3 separate regions of the Homo sapiens genome follow, and regions 1 and 2 are each linked to region 3. The links are contacts of gene promoters, found by promoter capture Hi-C in blood cells and fetal thymus (Javierre and others, 2016). All regions are on one chromosome and are shown on one strand. The core of a region is centred on a gene start or on the middle of the fragment in contact, and the rest is flanking DNA. Distances in the headings are between cores, read along the strand shown.

What was found. The method cuts DNA at HindIII sites, captures the fragments that hold promoters and counts their contacts. A CHiCAGO score of 5 or more calls a contact.
Region 1: a fragment that was not itself captured here is called in contact with the fragment with the promoter of NINJ2-AS1 in region 3 in 2 of 17 cell types (total CD8 T cells and total B cells); the score reaches 5.6 in total CD8 T cells.
Region 2: a fragment that was not itself captured here is called in contact with the fragment with the promoter of NINJ2-AS1 in region 3 in 2 of 17 cell types (activated CD4 T cells and naive CD4 T cells); the score reaches 5.3 in activated CD4 T cells.

The regions. Positions count from the first base shown.
Region 1 is chr12:812,119-815,182 of GRCh38, forward strand. It overlaps WNK1 (WNK lysine deficient protein kinase 1), which reads left to right. Exons shown (of 28, transcript NM_018979.4): 2 at 1,524-1,696. Among named protein-coding and RNA genes, the nearest start is that of WNK1, 61 kb to the left of the region's middle. The HindIII fragment of the contact is 2,974 bases long and covers 7-2,980 here.
Region 2 is chr12:786,512-789,872 of GRCh38, forward strand. All of the region lies in intron 1 of WNK1 (WNK lysine deficient protein kinase 1), which reads left to right. Among named protein-coding and RNA genes, the nearest start is that of WNK1, 36 kb to the left of the region's middle. The HindIII fragment of the contact is 1,767 bases long and covers 1,024-2,790 here.
Region 3 is chr12:629,047-632,303 of GRCh38, forward strand. NINJ2-AS1 (NINJ2 antisense RNA 1) reads left to right here and starts at 1,845. Exons shown (of 5, transcript NR_122124.1): 1 at 1,845-1,939; 2 at 3,168-3,201. All of the region lies in intron 1 of NINJ2 (ninjurin 2), which reads right to left. RefSeq lists silencers at 1,631-1,710, 1,771-1,870. The HindIII fragment of the contact is 3,290 bases long and covers 458-3,257 here.

The DNA.
Region 1 (3,064 bases), core at 244-2,743, 180 kb after region 3:
ACAATAAGCTTTTACAAACCATTTTTAAAAATCAAAAGCTGGGACCTTTGCAAGTTGATCATTCTGTATGGGTTGTGTTGGACTTAACTGAGACTCAGAGGCCCAATTTCAATTCTCATTTTTCTTTTAAGTCACAGGAATTTTTTATCCTTGGGGAAATGCTAACTGCTTATTAAGGACACACACACACACTTTTAAAGGGGTATTGAGGGGAAAAGACATTTATGGAATTCATTCAACAAATGGCTGTTGAACAAGTCACTATGCTAGGTTGTCAGGTGCTAAAGATAGAACACAAAAAGGTATCTTGTCACTGCCTTTTCATGACAAAAAGCCTCTGAGGGCTTATTCTATGGGGGATAAGAGTCAATATAATGTTGCCTGTGATTAAGTGTTATGTAAGAGGCATGTACATAGTATCCATTGGTTTTAATGCTATTGGGCAGAGTAGAAACAGGAGTAGTAACTTGGTTTCCTTTTATTACATTCCTTATTGGGTACTTTTGGCGACAGAGTGAGAACCTTAAAGTTCAATTAATAATTGATGTAATAACTGAAGAGAAAAATTAATGAACAGGAAGGTAGATCAGAAAACATTGCCCAGAAAGTAGCATACAGAAGGAAATGGAAAATGAGAGAGAAATTAAAGGATATTAAGGATAAACTAAAGTTATACACATACTCACACACATTTAAAAATTGTTTAAAAAGAAAAGAAGAGTTGGAAGGGGAAAAAAAGAGAATGAGAGGAGACAGTGTTTAGAGAGATACTGAGAATTTTCCTGACTTGAAGACAAATACTTGAGTATTTAAGTTATTGCTTAAAAGAAAAAAAAAATTAGGCTTCATGCAGTGGCTCACACCTGTAATCCCAGGCTTTGGGATGCCAAAGTAGGAGGATCACCAGAAGTTCAAGACCAGCCAGTGCATCATAGCAAGACCTCATCTCTACAAAAAATTAAAAAATTAGCCGGGCAAGGTGGCACATGCCTGTAGTCCTAGCTACTCTGGAGGCTGAGGTGGGAGGATCCCTTGAGCCCAGGATTTGAGGCTGCAGTGAGCTATGATAGCACCGCTGCATTCCAGCCTTGGTCACAGAGTGACTTCCTGTCTTTTAAACAAACAAACAAAAATAAAAACAATGTTTTGGTTAAAGATAGATTGATTTTAATCAAGGCAAAGATAGAACTGGAATTTATATTTAGGTCTTTGCCTCCAAAGCCTATGTTCATTTCCTGACATTAAATTGCATGTCTAGCAATTGATGACTTATGTTGGATATGGAAAGTTAACTGCACCTTACAAAAATGAGACTATATCTGAGTTACACATTAACAGTAAAGATACTAAAATGATCTCAAGCATGAATGTATATAATCCAAATCTATCATTTATAACTTCAGCATTTGCATTTTTTAAACACCATCGATCATGATTTAGTAATGTTTAAGTGTCTAAGATTAACTGTCTGATTTGGTGTTTTATCATTTTAAACCACATTCTGTTTTGGTTTTTGATTTTAGGATCGAAAATTAACAAAGTCTGAGAGGCAGAGATTTAAAGAAGAAGCTGAAATGTTAAAAGGTCTTCAGCATCCCAATATTGTTAGATTTTATGATTCCTGGGAATCCACAGTAAAAGGAAAGAAGTGCATTGTTTTGGTGACTGAACTTATGACGTCTGGAACACTTAAAACGTAAGTTCATCAGTATTACAAAAGCTGACCAAGAAGTATGAGAGAATTTGATTTTTTAAATTTCAGGTCTACCAGTTTCACTTTGGTTGTTCAGCCTAAGAAGGGAACAGTCCTTCCAACTGTTACTGTATTAGCATATTTCCTTGCCCACAAAGTCCTCTAGTATATAAAGTGATTTGATAATTATTTCTTGGTAAGTATTGAAATGAGAAGTTATGGCCGAGTGTGGTGGCTCATGCCTGTAATCCCAGCACTTTGGGAGGCCGGGGCAGGCGGATCACCTGAGGTTGGATCACCTGAGGTCAGGAGTTCGAGACCAGCCTGGCCAACGTGGTGAAACCCCGTCTCTACTAAAAGTACAAAAATTAGCCGGGCATGGTGGCGTGCACCTGTAACCCCAGCTACTTGGGAGGCTGAGGCAGGAGAATCGCTTGAACCTAGGAGGCGGAGGTTGCAGTGAGCTGAGATCACCTCACTTCATTCCAGCCTAGGTGAGACTCTGTCTCCAAAAAAAAAAAAAAAGAGTGGCTAAGGAATCAGAAATCAAATGTCAAGGTAGCCCTCTAGTGGTTAAAATGAGATTAAGGTTTATTGAGAAACTACCTATTTTTTTCATTTGTATTGTGCTTTGCTATATCCCTGCAACTTTTATATCAGATGCAGATTATATTGTGACAGTTATCACTTAAAAAATACTTTTAGTTCCATTTCCCATAACATCAGAAATTAATCCCCAAATAGCTAGATCTATCATTCCTTTCACAGAAATAGGTTTAATGCAGAAATTTCCCGTTACTTATTGTAAAGAGCTTTTGGTAAGTGTTGGAGTATGCCTTTGTAATCCCAGGTTTCTTAGAGCAGCAGTCCCCAACCTTTTTGGCATCAGGGATTGGTTTCATGGAAGACAGTTTTTCCATGAACTGGTGCGGGGGTGGGGCTGGGGAAGTTTGGAATGATTCAAGCACATTACATTTATTGTGCACTCTATTTCTATTATTATTACATTAAAATATATAATGAAATAGTTATACAACTCACCATAATGTAGAATCAGTGGGAGCCCTGAGCTTGTTTTCCTGCAACTCAACTGTCCCATCTGGGGGTGATGGGAGACAGGGCAGATCATCAGGCATTAGATTCTCATAACGAACGCTCAACCTAGATCCCTTGCATGCACAGTTCACAGTAGGGTTCATGGCCCTGTGAGAAATCTAATGCTGCTGACAGGAGCCAGAGCTCAGGTGGTAATGCGAGCAGTGAGGGAGCGGCTGTAAATACAGATGAAGCTTTGCTTGCTCGCCTGCCACTCACCTCCTGCTGTGTGGCCAGGTTCCTAAAAGGCCATGGACTGATATTGATCTGTGGCTC
Region 2 (3,361 bases), core at 657-3,156, 160 kb after region 3:
GGCTGGAGTGCAGTGGCACAATCTTGGCTCACTGCAACTTCTGCCTCATGGGTTTAAGTGATTCTCCTGCCTCAGTTTCCTGAGTAACTGAGATTATAGGCTCCTGCCACCAGGCCTGGCTAATTTTTGCATTTTAGTAGCGACAGGGTTTCATCATGTTGGTCAGGCTGGTGTCGAACTCCTTACCTCAGGTGATCCACCCACCTTGGCCTCCCAAAGTGCTGGGATTACCAGTGTGAGCCACTGTGCCTGGCCCTTTATCTTCTTTTTTATGTCATTTTAATTTTGATGTGTTTCTTATAAATAAACAGTGTTTAGACTTTTTTTTAAAGCCTGTTCCACAGGTTTTTTGTAATAGAGAACTTTAACGTACATTTATAGTAATAATTGGTATGTTTGGAGTTGGTCTTCTTCCTGCCTTCTATGTGTTTTAATTGGTATGTTTGGAGTTGGTCTTCTTCCTGCCTTCTATGTGTTTTATTTCTGCCTTGCCTTTCTTAGATAGATTTATTTTCTTTGCATTTTACACCTAGTAGTCTATCTTTTATGTAATTTTCATTATTTAAGTGACTTAAATGAAATTATGTATTTTTCATTGTTAATTTTTAAAACACCTACATATTAGACTATAAATCTACTTTATAAAAATAAAATTATTTCTCTACTTTTATAGGTGGTATTGTGGAATGGCAAAGCACAGACTCTAGAACAAGGCAGCTTCTGTTTACACCTTGGCTTGGCTTTGCCACTTTTTTATTGTAATCCTCTTGTGCATCCATTTCTTTTTTGGTTAAAGTAGAGATGGGGTCTCACTGTTGCTGATCTGAAACTCTGGGCTCAAGTGATCCTCCTGCCTCAGCCTCCCAAAGTGCTAGGATTTCAGGCGTGAGCCACCAAGCCCACGTAGGTACCTACTTCACAGAGGTGTTGTTGAGTTTAAATATGTTAATATATGTAAAGCACCAGAACAGGGTCTGGAAGTCAATAAATGTTAGCTATTATTAGGTGTCAGTTATTAACAAAAGCTTGAAACTACATTATTAGCGTAGTTCTTGTGGGTTCCTGTGTTTAATGCTTGCCTGGTTCTTAACCTATATTAGCTTTCTGTGTGTTTAAAAAAAATCTTTATCTTTTGTGTAAGTCGGTTTTCCTTATTCTTACACACTTTAATGTATGTAGGCTGCTCTGTTGTAAAGACCATCTGTCTTCTGCTGGGCTGAGGACCTCTGTGCATTTCCACTCTTTGACCATCTCAGGACAGGCACAACAAAAAAATGTTAAAAACTTAGATGTTGTCATGGATATGTGGATGCTTTACATTGTGTGTGTGTGCGTGTGTGTGTAATTTTAGTGTGAAAAATGGTATCAGGTTTCTCCAAGGCAACAAAACCATTAGGAGATTTTGTATATAACAGATAGATATTATATGTAATTTCAAGGAATTAGTTTACTTGGTTGTTGGGGCTGGCAAGTCTGAAATCTGTCTTCTGGTTGAGCTGGCCATTGGGTTGGGAACTCTAGCACAGGAGCTGATGCTGCACCTTTAGCCAGGATTTCTCAGGAAATCCCAGTTTACTGCCTTGTAAGTGATTAGATGAGACCCAACCACATAATTGAGGGTAGTCTCCTTTACATAAAGTCAGCTGATTGTAGGTTTAACCATATCTACAAAAATACCTTTATAGCAACACCTAGTTAGTATTTGATAGAATAATTGAATACTGTGGCAAAATTGTAACATAAAACTAACCATCACAGATGAGTATATTATTTCACAATAGATTGTCCTTCATATCAGCTTCTTGAAATTAAAAAAAAAGCTACTGTGTGTAATACTATATGGAAATTAAACATTGTCCATATTTTTAGTAAAATAATAATTCATAGTTATACTCTGCTAACATGAGATCAACTTATGCACTAATGGACCATATTTCTAAAAGTTTGTGAGTTGTTTGTTGACTTAAGTGAGAAAGGCCTGTAATGCCAGTACCGGAAATGATTGTTCCCAGAATAACCAGCAAAAGCTGATACCCAGACAGTATATCTGAAATATGTTACATATGAAAAATATATTTAAAAATGAAAGTGAGAGGACCGGGTGAGGTGGCTCACGCCTGTAATCCTAGCACTTTGGGAGGCCGAGGCAAGTGGATCACAAAGTCAGGTGTTTGAGACAAGCCTGGCCAAAATGGTGAAACCCCGTCTCTACTAAGAATATAAAAATTAGCCGGGCGTGGTGGCAGTTGCCTGTAATCCCAGCTACCCAGGAGGCTGAGGGAGGAGAATTGCTTGAACCCAGGAGGCGGAGGTTGCAGTGAGCCGAGATCGTGCCACTACACTCCAGTCTGGGTGACAGAGCAAGACTCTGTCTCGGGGGGGAAAAAGAAAGGTAAGTGAGCAAACATCTGTTTGGTGCCAGTAATATTAATAGTTTAGACTTTAACCTTTGCTTATAACAGTTTTTGTGGGAAGGTTTATTAGTTGGTTCTCAAATGTGAAGGCCACATGCTTCCTTCAATTAAGGCATAATAATGAAAGGACATACTGAGGCTACATTACATCTTTGTTGGTGAAATCAGGAGTAGAGGAAAGGGTAGAAACTAGAACAGATACAGATTGGGAAGTGGAGAGGTAAGATTCTTAGCCCATAATTTTCAGAGAAAGTAGTTGTTTGTTGATGGCACCAAACAGGGCTCCTGATTTATGATAAAGAATCATACATTTGGTAAAAGTTACAGTCTGAAGTACAAAACCCCAATGATTTTCCATTCTAGTGCTTCAGTGAGAAGCTTAACAGTGTACTATGTATAGGTAGATAAGAATAAAGTAAAAGACAGAATTCTTTGCTGTTAAAATGAAAGAATAACTTTTACTTAGCATAGTATGGTAGTATACTAATAAATGGTACACACTGCTAGTCATAAAATTTAGATTTTGTCCCCAGTTCTACCTGTATACCTGTATTATTAGTCCTTTGTTCTCTGTTCAGTGTCCTAGTAGAAACTGTGTGGTTATACTCCTTTTTTTTTTTTTTTTTTTTGAGACAGAGTCTCGCTCTGTCACTCAGACTGGAATGCAGTGATTCAATACTCACTGCAGCCTCAAACTCCTGGGCTCAAGCAGTCCTCCCACTGAGTAGCTGAGACTACAGGTGTATGCCACCAAACGCCAGGCTAAGTTTTTTAAAGAACTTCTGAAAGCATAGAGTTTTCAGGATGTTTTTATAATATTTCATAGATGGTAAGGCAGTGTCAGATTGATTCAGTTATGTCATCAAATGTCTCTCTGCCATTCTCAGCATGTATTTCAGGCTAATGCCCCTTATGGCCCTATTTTCAGCCATCACATGCATCCTGGA
Region 3 (3,257 bases), core at 595-3,094:
CATTCTCGTGTTTCTTTACTTGTCTAGCAAACTCGCTTTCACTTTACTTCATGGACTAGCCCAGAGTTCTTGTACAAGATCCGAAAAACCCTCTCTTGGGGTCTGGATCGGGACCCCTTTCTGGCAATGATACCCTCTTATTGTGGTAATTCATTTAATCCTCACAATGATCCTCTGAGGTAGGTGCCATTATTATCTTCATTTTACATGTGGGAAAACTGAAGCCGGAAGGATGAACAGCTTCCCAAGTTCACCGAAGGAGTAAGTGGTCCACAGGACTAGGAGCCTGGGATTTGCACCGAGGCAGTCTGGCTCTGTTCTCCATTGGCCACTGCGATGCCACCTGGGTGGAGGGAGCACAGGTCCAATGGCGGGGAGAGTACAGTACAACCCAGGATCCTGTCTTCCAGGTCTCTCCACGCAATTAACCTACTCAAAACTTCATGACAGTCCAGCAAGCTTGTCCAACCCACAGCCTGTGGGCCCCGTGCAGCCCAGGACGGCTTTGAACGCGGCCCAAAACAAATTCGTAAATTGTCTTAAAACATTATGAGTTCTTGGTTGGGCATGGTGGCTCACGCCTGTAATCCCAGCACTTTGGGAGGCCGAGGCAGGTGGATCACCTGAGGTCAGGAGTTTGAGACCAGCCTGACCAACATGGAGAAACCTCGTCTCTACTAAAAATGCAAAATTAACCAGGCCTGGTGGCGCATGCCTGTAATCCCAGCTACTCAGGAGACTGAGGCAGGAGAATCACTTGAACCTGGGAGGCAGAGGTTGTGGTGAGCCGAGATCGTGCCGTTGCACTCCAGCCTCGGCGACAAGAGCAAAACTCAAAAAAAAAAAAAAAATATATATATATATATATATATATATGAAGTTTCTTTGCGATTTTTTAAAAGTGTATCAGCCATTGTTAGTGTTGCTGTATTTTATGTGTGGGGCAAGACAATTCTTCCAATGTGGCCCAGGGAAACAAAACAATTGGACACCCTGGATGATGAAAAAGAGCACTCTTCAGCCCCTGCTGTCACCAAAGCCCCACCTCAGTTCTTGCCCTTAGGTAACGCCAAGATAGCAAAATGGAATTTTACCAAACCGCTCTTAGGTTCCTTCCCCAGGAGACCAGAAATGCCCTGGGGACTGCCTGCCTTTGAGGCAAATTTTTTTTCCTTTTTAAAGAAAGTGGTAAACATCTGAAAATAGAGTTTTTGAAAGAAAGTGACTCTTCAGTTGTAATTATAGCAGAGAGGGTCATTGCTTTCTATCAGCAAGAAAGCTGCTTCTATTTTTTTTTATTCTCTTTTTCTTGGTTTTTTGTTTTGTTTTGTTTTGTTTTGTTTTTTGAGACGGAGTCTCGCTGAGTTGCCCAGGCTGGAGTGCAGTGGTGTGATCTCGGCTCACTGCAAGCTCCATCTCCCGGGTTCAAGCGATTCTCCTGCCTCAGCCTCCCGAGTAGCTGGGACTGCAGGCTCCGGCCACCACGCCTGGCTAATTTTTTTTGTATTTTTAGCACAGACGGAGTTTCACCATGTTGACAGGCTGGTCTCGAACTCCTGGCCTCAGGTGATCTGCCCGCCTCGGCCCCCCAAAATGCTGGGATCACAGGCGTGAGCCACCGCTCCCCGCCGCTGCTTCTAAATACAGCCTGTATAATGCAAATCCCCAAAGAGGGCCAGCCTCTGGCCCCATTCAGCTTCCTCCCTCAGAGGCTGGGTGCGTGCGCCCTGGGCGGGGCGGCGGGCTCCCTCCGGAGAGGCCCCAGCCCGGCCTCGTGCCCCTCCCCAGCAGGCTTCCGGCCCTGCGCACAGACCCAAATGGCGCGGGAGGAGGAAGAAGGGGTCAGCTTCAAGCCTGACGTTCTAGGGGGGAGCCGCTTCTTAAGTACGTGCTAGGATCAAGGGTGCATTTGCAAACTTTTCAAAATGCCTTAGAGGAGGTAGGAGTCAAGCCCTTGGGATCTGGAGGGGAAGGAGGAGAGTCAGTTAAACCGCAGAAAGGTTGGTGGGGAGTGGGCTCAGTAATGGCCCCTGTCACAGCCTCGGGCCGGGACTCGCCAGCTCATTTTCTATTTCTAACTCAATGCCAGGCACTGAGCACTGTGCTCAACCTAGTAATTTGGAGACGGAGGTGGATATGCATATAACAGAACAGGATGCTCTCCGGACAAACGTTCTGAAGGAAAAGCAAACGGAAGATCCTCCCGCCTCTGCTGGGCAGTCTCTAATGACCCCTGGGGTATGTTCCAGACATGCGTGGGCATCTGCGAATTTACTCACCTGAGAGCTGCCTCTACCTTTTTTTGTTAAATTTTTATTTATTTATTTATTTATTTTGAGACGGAGTCTCCCTCTGTCACCAGGCGGGAGTGCAGTGGCGTGATCTCTGCTCAATGCAACCTCCGCCTCCCGGGCTCAAGCGATTCTGCTGCCTCAGCCTCCCGAGTAGCTGGGAGTACAGGCGCGCGCCACCACGCCCAGCTAATTTTTATATTTTTAGTACAGACGGGGTTTCACCATGTTGGCCAGGATGGTTTCTATCTCTTGACCTCGTGATCCGCCTGCCTCGGCCTCCAAAGTGCTGGGATTACAGGCGTGAGCCACCGCGCCTGGCCTGCCTCTACCTCTGATCCCTGGGATCAGAAATGAGAAATGCAAAGATTGTCCCTGTGTTATGTGTGTACTGTTTGTAATTGTAATTCACAATCCCCTTTCTTGCTCCTCACCCCATATTCAATTAAGAGAGAAAGGTGAAAAACACAAAGCACAAAATGTTTCCAGGAAACTATCTGAAACTCCTGGAAGGCTAGATTTAGGTATAAACAGAGTAGAACTCCAGATTTCTGCAATGCTCCTTAGGGGCTGAGCTTCCTGCATGCCCTTGACAATTAGAGGAGTTTTTTTTAATACTTCAAAATTATTCCAGAAAGGCATGCAGATGAGAAGATAACCAGGTTATGAGGAAGCCCAAGGTATTTGGTAAGGATGCTCAAGTTTTGGGGAAGGTCAGCTGAAATAGCAATTTGTGGGTGGACTATTAGCAGGGAGTTGACTGGAGAATTAATCAGACGTTGAAGGGACATGGGGGACCCGGGAGGATGAAGTCTGAACTCGGGCTCAGGATATGGAAAAAGATTGAGTAAAGCTGAGATTCCTGTGTGCTTAAAGTCCTAACCAGCCCCAGGGTGTCTGAGGCACGCTGGTAAGTAGAATCAGAGATTCCATTCAGCAAAAGCAGACAGGAAAACAAATCTCTTT